Regions from separate parts of the Homo sapiens genome. Here all the other regions are linked to region 4. The links are contacts of gene promoters, found by promoter capture Hi-C in blood cells and fetal thymus (Javierre and others, 2016). All regions are on one chromosome and are shown on one strand. The core of a region is centred on a gene start or on the middle of the fragment in contact, and the rest is flanking DNA. Distances in the headings are between cores, read along the strand shown.

Evidence for each region. Contacts are between HindIII fragments. The CHiCAGO score rates a contact against its expected background, and 5 or more counts as called.
Region 1: the fragment with the promoter of OGDH here is called in contact with the fragment with the promoter of RAMP3 in region 4 in 5 of 17 cell types (fetal thymus, total B cells, naive B cells and 2 more); the score reaches 11.3 in fetal thymus.
Region 2: a fragment that was not itself captured here is called in contact with the fragment with the promoter of RAMP3 in region 4 in 1 of 17 cell types (M1 macrophages); the score reaches 5.1 in M1 macrophages.
Region 3: a contact is called between the fragment with the promoter of DDX56 here and the fragment with the promoter of RAMP3 in region 4, in 7 of 17 cell types (monocytes, naive B cells, total CD4 T cells and 4 more). The highest score is 8.8, in monocytes.

Annotation. Positions count from the first base shown.
Region 1 is chr7:44,605,328-44,608,027 of GRCh38, forward strand. It overlaps OGDH (oxoglutarate dehydrogenase), which reads left to right and starts at 1,300. Exons shown (of 23, transcript NM_002541.4): 1 at 1,300-1,326. RefSeq lists enhancers at 860-1,459, 1,711-2,274, 1,950-2,289 and a silencer at 1,500-1,729. The HindIII fragment of the contact is 8,395 bases long and covers 1-1,946 here.
Region 2 is chr7:45,678,557-45,681,256 of GRCh38, forward strand. It overlaps ADCY1 (adenylate cyclase 1), which reads left to right. Exons shown (of 20, transcript NM_021116.4): 11 at 1,153-1,237. Among named protein-coding and RNA genes, the nearest start is that of ADCY1, 110 kb to the left of the region's middle. The HindIII fragment of the contact is 2,955 bases long and covers 1-2,700 here.
Region 3 is chr7:44,572,430-44,575,241 of GRCh38, forward strand. It overlaps DDX56 (DEAD-box helicase 56), which reads right to left and starts at 1,479. Exons shown (of 14, transcript NM_019082.4): 1 at 1,407-1,479; 2 at 1,154-1,315; 3 at 461-621; 4 at 145-315; 5 at 1-8. The coding sequence starts at 1,466. RefSeq lists an enhancer at 1,096-1,245. The HindIII fragment of the contact is 6,359 bases long and covers 1-2,812 here.
Region 4 is chr7:45,156,437-45,159,136 of GRCh38, forward strand. RAMP3 (receptor activity modifying protein 3) reads left to right here and starts at 1,355. Exons shown (of 3, transcript NM_005856.3): 1 at 1,355-1,450. The coding sequence starts at 1,393. The HindIII fragment of the contact is 23,160 bases long and covers 1-2,084 here.

The DNA.
Region 1 (2,700 bases), core at 50-2,549, 550 kb before region 4:
GCCTCAATCTCTCAGGCTCAAGAGATCCTCCTGCCTCAGCCTCCCAATTAGCTGAGACTACAGGTGAGTGCCACTACACCTGGCTAATTTTCTTGATTTTTTAGTAGAAATGAGATCTTGCTCTGTTCCCCAGGCTGATCTGGAACTCCTGAGCTCAAGCGATCCTCCCGCCTCCACCTCCCGAAGTGCTGGGATTACAAGCGTGAGCCACTGCACCCAGCTGCAAATGTTTAGTACATACATTTTTACCGTAATTTATTTAAAAAAAAAAAAGGAAAAAAGAATACAGAAGTTTGTTCCTTGGTCTCTTCACCTCTTCCAGTCTCTAGATCCTTGTCACATACATTACCCTAACTTTGTTCTATAATAAGCACTTATACGCCCCCTTTTTTTGTTTGTTTTTTGAGACGGATTTTCGCTCTTGTTGCCCAGGCTGGAGTGCAATGGCACGATCTCGGCACACCGCAACCTCCGTCTCCCGGGTTCTAGCGACTCTCCTGCCTCAGCCTCCCGAGTAGCTGGGATCGCCACCACGCCCAGCTAATTTTTGTATTTTTAGTAGAGACGGGGTTTCCCCATGTTGGTCAAGCTGGTCTCGAACTCCTGACCTCAAGTGATCCGCCCGCTTCGGCCTCCCAAAGTACTGGGATTACAGGCGTGAGCCACCGCGCCCGGCCTTTCCCCAAATTTTAATACTTTAAAATAGGGAACATCTTACAATCAACAGGTTGTGACAGGTTAATTAGCCACGTTTTATCTTTGATAGGTAGCTCTAAAGTCAAGAAAACCCAGGCAAGATCCCGGGCAAGATCCCAGCACTGCCAACTGTCATTTGTAGACCGGGGATAGGAACACCTGTCTCACAGATTGTTACACAATAGCGCCGGTGAAGCGCTTGTCACAAAGCCTGACCCAGGACAATCTCAAAAACGGAGATTCTGTTATTCAAATTGTTTATTTTTGTGCGCTAAGTTTCACATCAACCCAACTATCTCTTGATAGGTTCCTACCAGGCGCTAGAGATATCTTACTTTCAGAAATTATTTATGATAGCAGAAGCCGCTGGAAGTCCATAGACAACCTCATCTCTCTAGCGGAGCAAACAGCTGGGCTCCAGCTGGCCCTGGCTTCTGCAACTGCGCAGTCGGCGCTGTGACGCCCGGCGCGGCTCTGTGACGTCACGAATCGGTCCTCTGTAAGAGGGGAGGGCATTCTTCTCCAGGGGAGGGCTACGTGTTGACGCCATACGCCGGGGCGGGGCCGAGAGTTTGGAGCCCCGGAGTGGGGTGTCGGCGCCTCATTCGGGTGGAGCTGAGCCGGAGACAGGTAACCGTGCGCTGTCGCCGCGCCCGTCCCAGTGCCGGGTGTCGCGGCGCTTGGCGGCCCGGGGTTGGAGATCGCGGTAAAGGGGGAGGCCGCCGCGCCCTTGGTGCTGCGGGCGCCGCGGTGACAGGGGAGTGGAGCTGGATGGAGTGGGGCTCACGGAGGGTGGTAGGAGGGACGGGACCTGATGGATGGCCGTGGCAGCCAATGGAGCCGCGGGGCCTGCCCGGCGGGCGGAGATTGGCGGGTACGGGCGGGCTCCGAGGTCGCGCGGGGCGCGGAGCGACGCGCCATTGGCGGTGGGCGAGCGGGGGGCGGGCGCGGCGGCGGATGTGAGGGAGAGGGCGGTGCGTCCGCAGGGGTGACCCCCAAGGTCGCCGCGGGCGTCACGTGGTTAGGCCGCTCTCCGACGGCGTCCTTCCCGACCGGGACGCACTCTCCTTCCCGCCTGTGAGGACCGCGTCGCTTTGTCCGAAAGACAGTGTGGCCTGCTCGAGTTGCGTCGGAGCATCTGGCTTTGGGGTGGCCCTGGGTGGGACTGCCTGTTTGGATTACCGCGCAGACCTTGGCGCCGCCCCCACACCTGCTGCCAGAAGTTGGGTCGAACAGATTGACCGAGATGAAGCTTATTTCTCGTAGAAACATCTTTCAAGCACCATTTTCCCTCGAAAATATATCAGACATTGGATATGAGTTGTAATCTACTGAGATTTAATAGAAAACTTGCCGCGCCCTCGCCCTGACCTGGGTGCGTCCCACCTGCCATCCCCATCCCTTTGCCCAGAACATAGGACTTCGTGTTAGGGTTTCCTTGTGCCTTGTCTTGCAGTCCGTACTTTGAGGCTGATTTCCAGGTACACTGCTCTGAACAGCTGGGTTTAGGATGGGTGGCATGGGATAAAGCCTTTTTTTGTAAGGCAGCACTAGTTGCAACAGTCAAACTGTACTTTGCCGTGTAGACCTAGGAGAGTATGTAACACTATTGTAGTTTTGTAAATTAGCTGAGGACTGGATCTTGGGAAGTTGAATAAAGATCACTGTATGCTCATTTTTTGTTGTTGTTGTCTTGTTTGAGATGGAGTCTCTGTCGCCCAGGCTGGAGTGCTGTGGCGCGATCTCGGCTCACTGCAACCTCTGCCTTCCTGGGTTCAAGTGATTCTCCTGCCTCAGCCTCCCAAGTAGCTGATATTACAGGCACGCGCCATCACGCCCGGCTAATTTTTGTATTTTTAGTAGAGACGGGTTTTCACCACCTTGGCCAGGCTATTCTCGAACTCCTGACCTCAGGTGATCCGCCCGCCTCGGCCCCCAAAGTGCTGGGATTACAGGCGTGAGCCACTGCGCCCGGCCCCTCATTATTTTTTTTAAGCGCACTTT
Region 2 (2,700 bases), core at 41-2,540, 520 kb after region 4:
TCATCCATGCAACATGCACCATTGCTGTAATAATAGCTTTTGGCTGGGTGTAGTGGCTCATACCTGTAACCCCAGCACTTTGGGAGGCTGAAGCAGGAGGATTATTTGAGGCCAGTAGTTCAAGACCAGCCTGAGCAATATAGCAACACTCTATCTACAAAAAAAAAAAAAAAAAAAATTAGCCAGGCATGGCAGCACTTGCTTGTAGTAGTCCCAGCTACTCAGGAAGCTGAGGCAGGAGGATCCCTTGAGCTCAGGAGTCTAAGCTGCAGTGAGCTATGATCTCACCACTACACTCCAGCCTGGATGACATAGTGAGACTTTGTCTCTAAAAATAATAATAATAATAATAACAATAACTTTTGAGAAGAAACTGCACTTAATGAGCTCATTGGCTTCTAAATCCATGTCATTTTCAAAAACTTAAAATCCCTCTTAAAAGGAAGAAAAACAGTAGTTTAAATAACATTTAAACATCATATAAGTAAATGTGAGTTTGGCAGCTTTTATTTTATTTTATTTTTTTTGCAAGAAAGACACCACTGAGTCTGCACTTGCCACTTTACTTTCAAGTGTACTCATTTCTTAATAAAACCTACCTACGGGAATACTACCTCCTCTGAGTTTGAAAGCACATGGAGGCCACCCCACACCTGCGGAGGAGGAGGGAGTTCAGCCCTGGGTGCTCTGCATCCTGCCCAGCCCACAGACACTGAACACAGCAGCCTGCCTCATGGGCCTATTTGGGATTTAAGCGTTTTCTAAAAATGCCCTTCCCAGACAAAGCCCAGCTAGAGAATAGCTCAGCAAAGTCTGGGAAACTCTTGTCTTTCCATCATGAGGAAAACGGCTTCCAGAAAAGTTCTGTGATTCTCAGCCTAAGCTAGATCTCTGCGGTGGGGGTAGGAGAAGTGGGAGGTAGACTCAGGAGGGGCCCCCTTCTTACTCAGGAACCCCAGATGCCCTGCCCTAAAAAATAGAACCAGCCATGTCAGTTCCCAGAGACCTGAGTGGCAGGCATCCAGGTTAACGATGCTGCTTCCTCCTGAGAGCACAGGGGATGTGGAGGGAGGGGCCAATTCTCAGCCATCTCTTGGGTCCGCCTCTCCTAATCCCCACCTATCAGTGACTCTCATGTTTTCTGTCCCCCAGGAGTGTGGTCGTCCTGCTCCTGCTAGTATTCTGCATCTGCTTCCTGGTGGCCTGTGTCCTGTACCTGCACATCACCCGGGTCCAGGTATGTGGGTGGCCTGTGTCCTGTACCTGCATATCACCTGGTTCATGTATGTGAGTGGCCTGTATCCTGCACCTGCATATCACCTGGTCCAGGTATGAGGGTGGCCTGTGTCCTATACCTGCATATCACCTTGTTCAGGTATGTGGGTGGCCTGTGTCCTGTACCTGCATATCACCTGGTCCAGGTATGAGGGTGGCCTCTGCCTGCCCTCTGGGTGGGATGGGGTGGGATAGGGGAGGCAGTTCTGTTCCCTCCCCTGCCTAGACAGGAAGAAAGAGTCTGCTCATATAGCAGGTGCTCATGAAGACCCAGTTCTGCACTGGGCACATGCACTCCTTTGGGAGTGTACCTGGTGGGCACAATAGACTGGCGATTGATATTGATTAAACAAATGAGCACAAGATACTGATCCTGTTCTCTTGGAATGGAGAGTCTAGCAGCAGGACAGAAGAGGGATGTTTATTCTGTGTTTATGTCACAGACTTTGGAGAGGGGTGACATTTTCCAGGTACATTGTGCTATCTGGGCCCTGATGCCTCATCTGCTTTGCTCTGTGGGCTTTTGCAGGAAAGACGTGAGCTTTGCGGCCTTGTACTATCTGTGGCTCACTTGGAGGACTGTATAGTTCCTAGTCCTGCATTCCTTCATCACATTCTCCACCTTCATTTCTAAACGACTCGTTTCCCTCAGCCGACCCCAGGATGTCACTTCTGGCAGACCCAGTGTTATATTTGCATAATTACTGAAAACAGCAACTTTTTGAAAAGATTAAATCTAGTTTCATTCATTTAACTTTGTCATTATTCATAGGTAATATCTTGAGTTTTTAAATTAAAAAAATGCTAACTATTAAAACTTCATTCCTATTTCTTTGACTTGTATAGATTGAGTGACATTTGGTTTGACAAATTTTAAAATTTACCACTTCAAGTAAAACTGCTGTTTTTCATATAATTTCAAGTGAAAGCAGGACAGAAGGATGATAGTTTTTAAAGCCTATTCCTTAGTCCTCAGTGGTGGGAACCAGTGTGCCCACCCAATGGTGTACAAATAGCATTAGACATGCAGAAAGTGTGAAAAGCCATTGGGCAAGAAGAGCGATGACAAAGCAGAAGCCAAGGAATGCGCCAGCCTGGAAAGCTCTGCCCAAAGGTCCTGGCCCAGGAATACTGATTCTTGCGAGTGGATGTACACTGCTTTCTGTGACTCCACGAGAGCCTCCCAAGCCAGGTGGTGAGACGGGTCAGCCCCTTTCCCACATGTGAGGAAAGTGGGCTCAGGCAGGCTAAGGGATGTGCTCATGAAACCAGGAAGCAAAATCTGCACCCAATCTGTCCATAAAAATAATATTCAAATTAAGAAAACTCTCGGTTCTAAAAAACACATGATCTGTGGGATTGGGGCGCTAAGTCATCTGCCCAGAATTACCCCCCTTTTGTTAATAAGGGAGCTGCCCTCATGGC
Region 3 (2,812 bases), core at 229-2,728, 580 kb before region 4:
GCAAGTGACTGAAATGAAAGAATCCAATCAGATTCCAGCTCCAAGGGCCGCTAATTGTAGTAACTGGCTTCCAGCCACCCCGCTCTCGTCCCAACTCCTACTCACAGATGTTTCCACTAGGAATCACACCCACCTCTGCCTTACCAGAGGAGACTCTTGAGCTCTTCTTCAAAGCCAAAGGAAAAAAGAAGGTCAGCTTCGTCCACCACCAAAAGCTCCAGGGAGTCACGAAGTTTCAGGCTGTCTTGCTGCAAGTGGCTTAATATGCGAGATGGGGTCCCTACTACCACATCTGGCTTCTCCATCAGCACAGCTCTGGAGGTGGACAAGACATCAGTATCAGGCAGAATGTAGCAGCTGGGATCTCACCCTGGATTTGCTCTCTTTTTTGCCACACACAAACCCAACCCCACAACACTGTGTAGCTTCATTCAGGTACAGCTTTGCTGCTTTTACCCACCTCTGAGAGACTGAGTCTTCAGCAGCTGAGACATTGGCCACTCGGACATCCCGAGCACAGTAGGTAGCCAGCTGCTGAATCATGGACTGTGCTTGCCGTGCCAGCTCCTTGGTAGGAACAAGAACAAGGCCTCTCACTGCCTGTTCTACCACCGGACCTGTCTGTAAGAATATGAATTAAAGACTTTAGCCAGCAGTGCACATCACTGTGTCCACGTGTCTCTACCCCTTCCAGCCTACCTGACCCATCTGCTGCAACACTACTTAGCAGTACTTTGATCATCTATCACTCTGCCCGCCTCAGAATGCAGAGTGGAGAGTTCTTTCCCCAGGCACTGACCCTCAAAAAGAATAACGTACTCTGATGTTTATGAAGCTACTTTAAATATACTAGTTATGAAGCTAAATTCTCACAATAATTCTGTAAGTAGAAAAGATAGATGTGCTCCCTTTTTATGTAAGAAAGAAAAGAAAGTGCTTTGTCGAAGATTACGCAAAGGTTGGTGGTAGCAGGGCCGGACAAGGATCCAGGTAACCTGAACTCCAGCCCAGAGTGTTTGCCACAACAGCACCAGGTTCTCAGGCCGGCCTGCACGGGTACAGGGCCAAGAGAAAACCTCAGACAAACGGGAACCGCCCTTCCCAGGCTTTTGGAGCTTGCCTCCTTCCTCCCCTCAGCTCTCTCGTTACCCACCGCCTTCCTATGGAGCAACAGCTGCAGCATCGGAATAGCATAAGCGGCCGTCTTCCCGGAGCCCGTGCGGGCCCGAGCCAGGAGGTCCTTCCCTTCTAGGGCCAGTGGGATGGCCTTCTCCTGGATCAGCGTAGGTCGCGACCAGCCCAGATCGGTGACAGCCTAGGAGACCAGGAGTGCGGTTTAAGCGGCGTGAAGAGCGATGGCGCGCCCCGCAGAGCCCGTAAGCCGGCTCCCCAGCCCTCGCGTGTACCTGAAGGAGCCGGGGATCGAGGCCCATGTGTTCGAAGCCCAGTGCTTCAGAGTCCTCCATGGCGCTGCTCAGTAGCGCAGCACGCACGCGCTGCAGGAAAAACGCCACCGACGCGAGCGGGAGCAAAGCAACAACCAATCGGCTTCGGAGACGAAGTCACTTCCCGGAAGTGCTGGCGGCCTAGGCTTCCGGTACTCGGACGGAGCTCTGCGACTGCGCAGTCCCTAGGACTGGGTCTAGTAGGAGGCGGTGGAGCGGCCGTGCTGGGGTCGACGGGGTACTTTGGACTACAGAGCCGCTCCACTGGCTCTTCCGGCGTTCCCGGACGCCGCTGACGCACCTGATTCTCGCGACCTGCAGGAGAAGCCTCGGCCGGGGCGAGGGCCGAGGTCGTGACGGGCATGACCGTCTCTCTGCTTGGTTAGGGTTAGTGTCCCGCCGGGCACATCACCCTATGAATGGAGCCACTGAGATAGACTGGGCTGAGGAGAACCGGTTGGAATAATGAGCCATGGCAGCAACTGCCTGAGAGAGAGGACCGGCGGGTTGCTGTAGGGCTCCCTAACCGGACTGCCTGTCAGAAACCTGCACAGCTTGGTTTCTGTTCTTTGTGTCCCAAATCTGACTCGGGTCACCAGTTAAGACCCGTGTCAGACTTCTGACCTACAGACTTGCGTCGTTTTAAGCCAGTAAATTTGTGGTAATTTGTTACAGTAGCAATAGGAAAATAATACAGGTGAGGACTAAGAATCCTAATCACAAATCTTTTTTTTTTTTTGAGACATGGTCTGACTGTCACCCAGGCTGGCGCGATCTCAGGCTCAAGTGGTCCTCCCACCTCAGTCTCCTGGAAAGCTAAGACTACAGGCACGCACCACCACGTCCAGTTAGCGTGTATGTATGTATGTACGTACGTGTGTGTGTGTGTGTATGTGTATATATGTAACTCCTCCTCCCCTCCCCCCTCCCCTTCTCTTCTTTTCTTTCTAGATGGGGTTTCGCCACGTTGCCCAGGACGGTTTTGAACTCCTGGGGCCAAGCGATCTGCCTTCCTCGGCCTCCCAAAGTGCTGGGATTGCAGGTGCGAGCCACTGCTCCTGGCCCATAAGTCTTTCAGTGTAGAAGAGGGAAGCAGAAGAGGTCAAAGTGGTGCCATGTGAGAGCTCAACCCACCCTTGCTGGAGGAAGGGAGCCAGAGCCAAGCTGGAAAAGGCAAGGAAACAACCTTTGTGATTACATTAGGCCCATCCAGATGATCCAGGATAATTTATTTTACAGTCATCTGATTAGCAACTTAATTCTCTTCTGTCATGTTAGGTAACATATTCATATGTTTCAGAGTGGTAGGCCATTATTCTACCTACCATACCACCCAACACAAATCTACATTAAGACTATATCTGAGT
Region 4 (2,700 bases), core at 105-2,604:
CAGAAAGTTCTTCTCCCGAATAAGGGTCTTGTTAAATAAAGTGGGTCTTTCTAAGCCAGGAGAAGTTCAGCTCAGCTCCTGGGAAGGTAGCAGTACCTACGGCTCAGAGGAGTGGAGGGCCCATCCATGTAGGAGCCTGGGCCTGTGCCCCAACCTCAGACCAGCATGTGCCCCCAGGGGTGGTGGGTGGGCCCTGGAGGGCAGAGAGGTGCCTCTAGCTGGCTCTCGGAAGTCCTGACCAGTGACAATTCTTAAGACACCATTAAGTGTCCACTGGAGCCAGGGCCTGTGCTAGGGGCTGAGGGTGACAGAGGTGACCCATCTGGCCAAGTGACCTGTGGCTGGAGAAACTGAGGCCCTCCTTCGCCTCAGGGACCCTGACACTCTTCAAGGCCAGGTCTTTGGTGGTGCCAGATACTCTCCTGTCCCTTGGTTTGCTTGTGGCTTGGTTCTTGGTGTGTGATACGTCTCTGTGTGTGTAGTTGCCACACCCTCCAGTCTCTCTCATACACACTGTTTCCCAAGCATACACTCACAAACACACCTTGTCTCAGACTCAAACACACACATGCCACACACACACCATACATCACACACTCCATGCACACACATGCATCTACACACACCCCACATGCACATCACACACACGTACTCCATGAACAACACACACACGCACACACACAGACGCACACACACACACCCCCCAACCTCTTTTATGCACTTTCCTGACCTTTGGAGACCTGGCTCCTAGATGTATCTCTGCTCAAAGTTCCCCTCCCTGCCTGGGGGCAGCTCTGGACTCTGGTCTACTTTCGGCCAGGGCACACCTAGCCCACTCCCAGGTCCACCTTCCTCCAGTCTACCCCCAGACTCCTCTAGGCCATCATCAGCCAGCGCTTCATCCTCACCTCAGCTCCCTCCCCGGTCTACCCCCACCCTCTGCCCCTGAGCCTGGACGGAAGTTCCCCAAGTCTCTCCAGCCTGCATCCCAGCCCACCGTCAGCCGGCCCCCACGCTCACCCCAGCTCACCTCCCAGTCTGCCCCTACAATCTGCTCCCAAAAAGCTCCTTTGCAGCTCAGCACCCCAGCCCCGCCCTCAGAGCCCATCAGCCGGCACCCCACCTTACCCCAGCTTGTCCCCAGCTCGAAACCCTGCCCTCGCCCCCCTCTCACCCCGCTGAGACTCCAGCCGCCCCCATCCCTCCCACCCGGCGCGCCTGCAGGGACTGCACCCCACATCTGGAGGCAACGGGGCACGGCCGCAGGCGTGGTCTGGGGGTGCGGCCTGAGGGCGGACCCCCTGAGGCCCCGCCCCACCCCAACCCCAACCGGGCGTCCCCCAGCCGCGCCCCCAGCGGGACCGAGCGTGACCCAGCTGCGGCCGGCCAGCCATGGAGACTGGAGCGCTGCGGCGCCCGCAACTTCTCCCGTTGCTGCTGCTGCTCTGCGGTAAGGGGGCGACGGCCCGCACCGGGGGCGCCCCCACTCCTCGGGGTTCACCGGACCCGGGTGGACCCGCGCCTTCCCGCACCTGCGCCGCGGTCCTTCCCTTGCCCCGGAGCTCGGGAGGGGCGCACAGTGACCCTGGCGGGATTCCCAGGCTCTGCGGGAGGGTTCCACCCGGGAGAAGCTGAAGGCGAAGGACTCTGGCGGGCAAGGGAGGCACAGGGCCCCCTCCGGGGTCTTCTGACGGCAGGGTCCGGCAGCCCCCGGTCCTTCTAGTTGTGATGTCCCCCCACGCCCCGGTTCTGGGGTCGCCTCAGGGTGGGCGAGAAGAGGTGGACCAGGTCTGGCTCTTTACCCCTTATCCCCCAGGGTGGGCTGTCTGTAAGGTAGTGAGCTCTCTGTCCTGGCATTGAGTGCCTGCCCACCACTCACAGGGGCGTGGGCGGGTGGACTCCGGACTGGGTAGCTGGTCCTCCCAGGGCCCCTCAGTGTGTGGACGCCTGTGTGTGTCCTGGAACTGGCTGAGAGGGGAAGCGGGGCGACTCTCTGAGCCATCCTCTCCTAATGCCTTCTTCGGCAAGAAATCAGGACTCTAGGAAGAACCATTGCTCACAAAATGGAAATAGATTAAACTAAAAGCTTGTTTTGAAGTACCTTGCTAAAGAAATTATCCAAGAAAAAGTAAGAGAGAGAGAGAGAGAGAGAATGTGTGTAAAGGCTGTTGGGGAAGAGTGCTTGCTGAGGGCTGGGGTCCACTGAGTGGTGACTGAGCCTGGCCAGTTCTGGGGGGGACATTGGTGATGGAGGGCCCTGGCCTGGTGGTCCCCAGTTTCCCTGGCTGTAAGATGCAGAGTTGGGCCTGTTTTGATGATTTGGGATTTGGTACGGGAGGTGGGAAAAGGGTGGACCAAACTCAGTGGTCATTTTCCTTCCATTGAAGAGGTCTTGGTGTGCAGAACTTGTGTGGCTTCATTTGGTGTTCCAGGGCTGGAGCCTAGGATGTGGTGGATTTTGTGTTGAAGTGCAAAGGTGGATGGCAGCTTCTGAAATCAGGAGCATGCTGATTTGGGATTTCAGCAAACTTCCAGTGAGCGCCCCTTAGGTGGAGATCTTGGTCGCTATAGTGGAAGGAAGGTCCTCTCAATTCATTCTGGGAGAAGCTGAGGCTTTCCTGATCATCTCCAGTATCAAATTGAGAAGGACCACAGGCTTCCGCCTGCACAGAATCCCCCCTTAATAATCCTGTCTCTCGT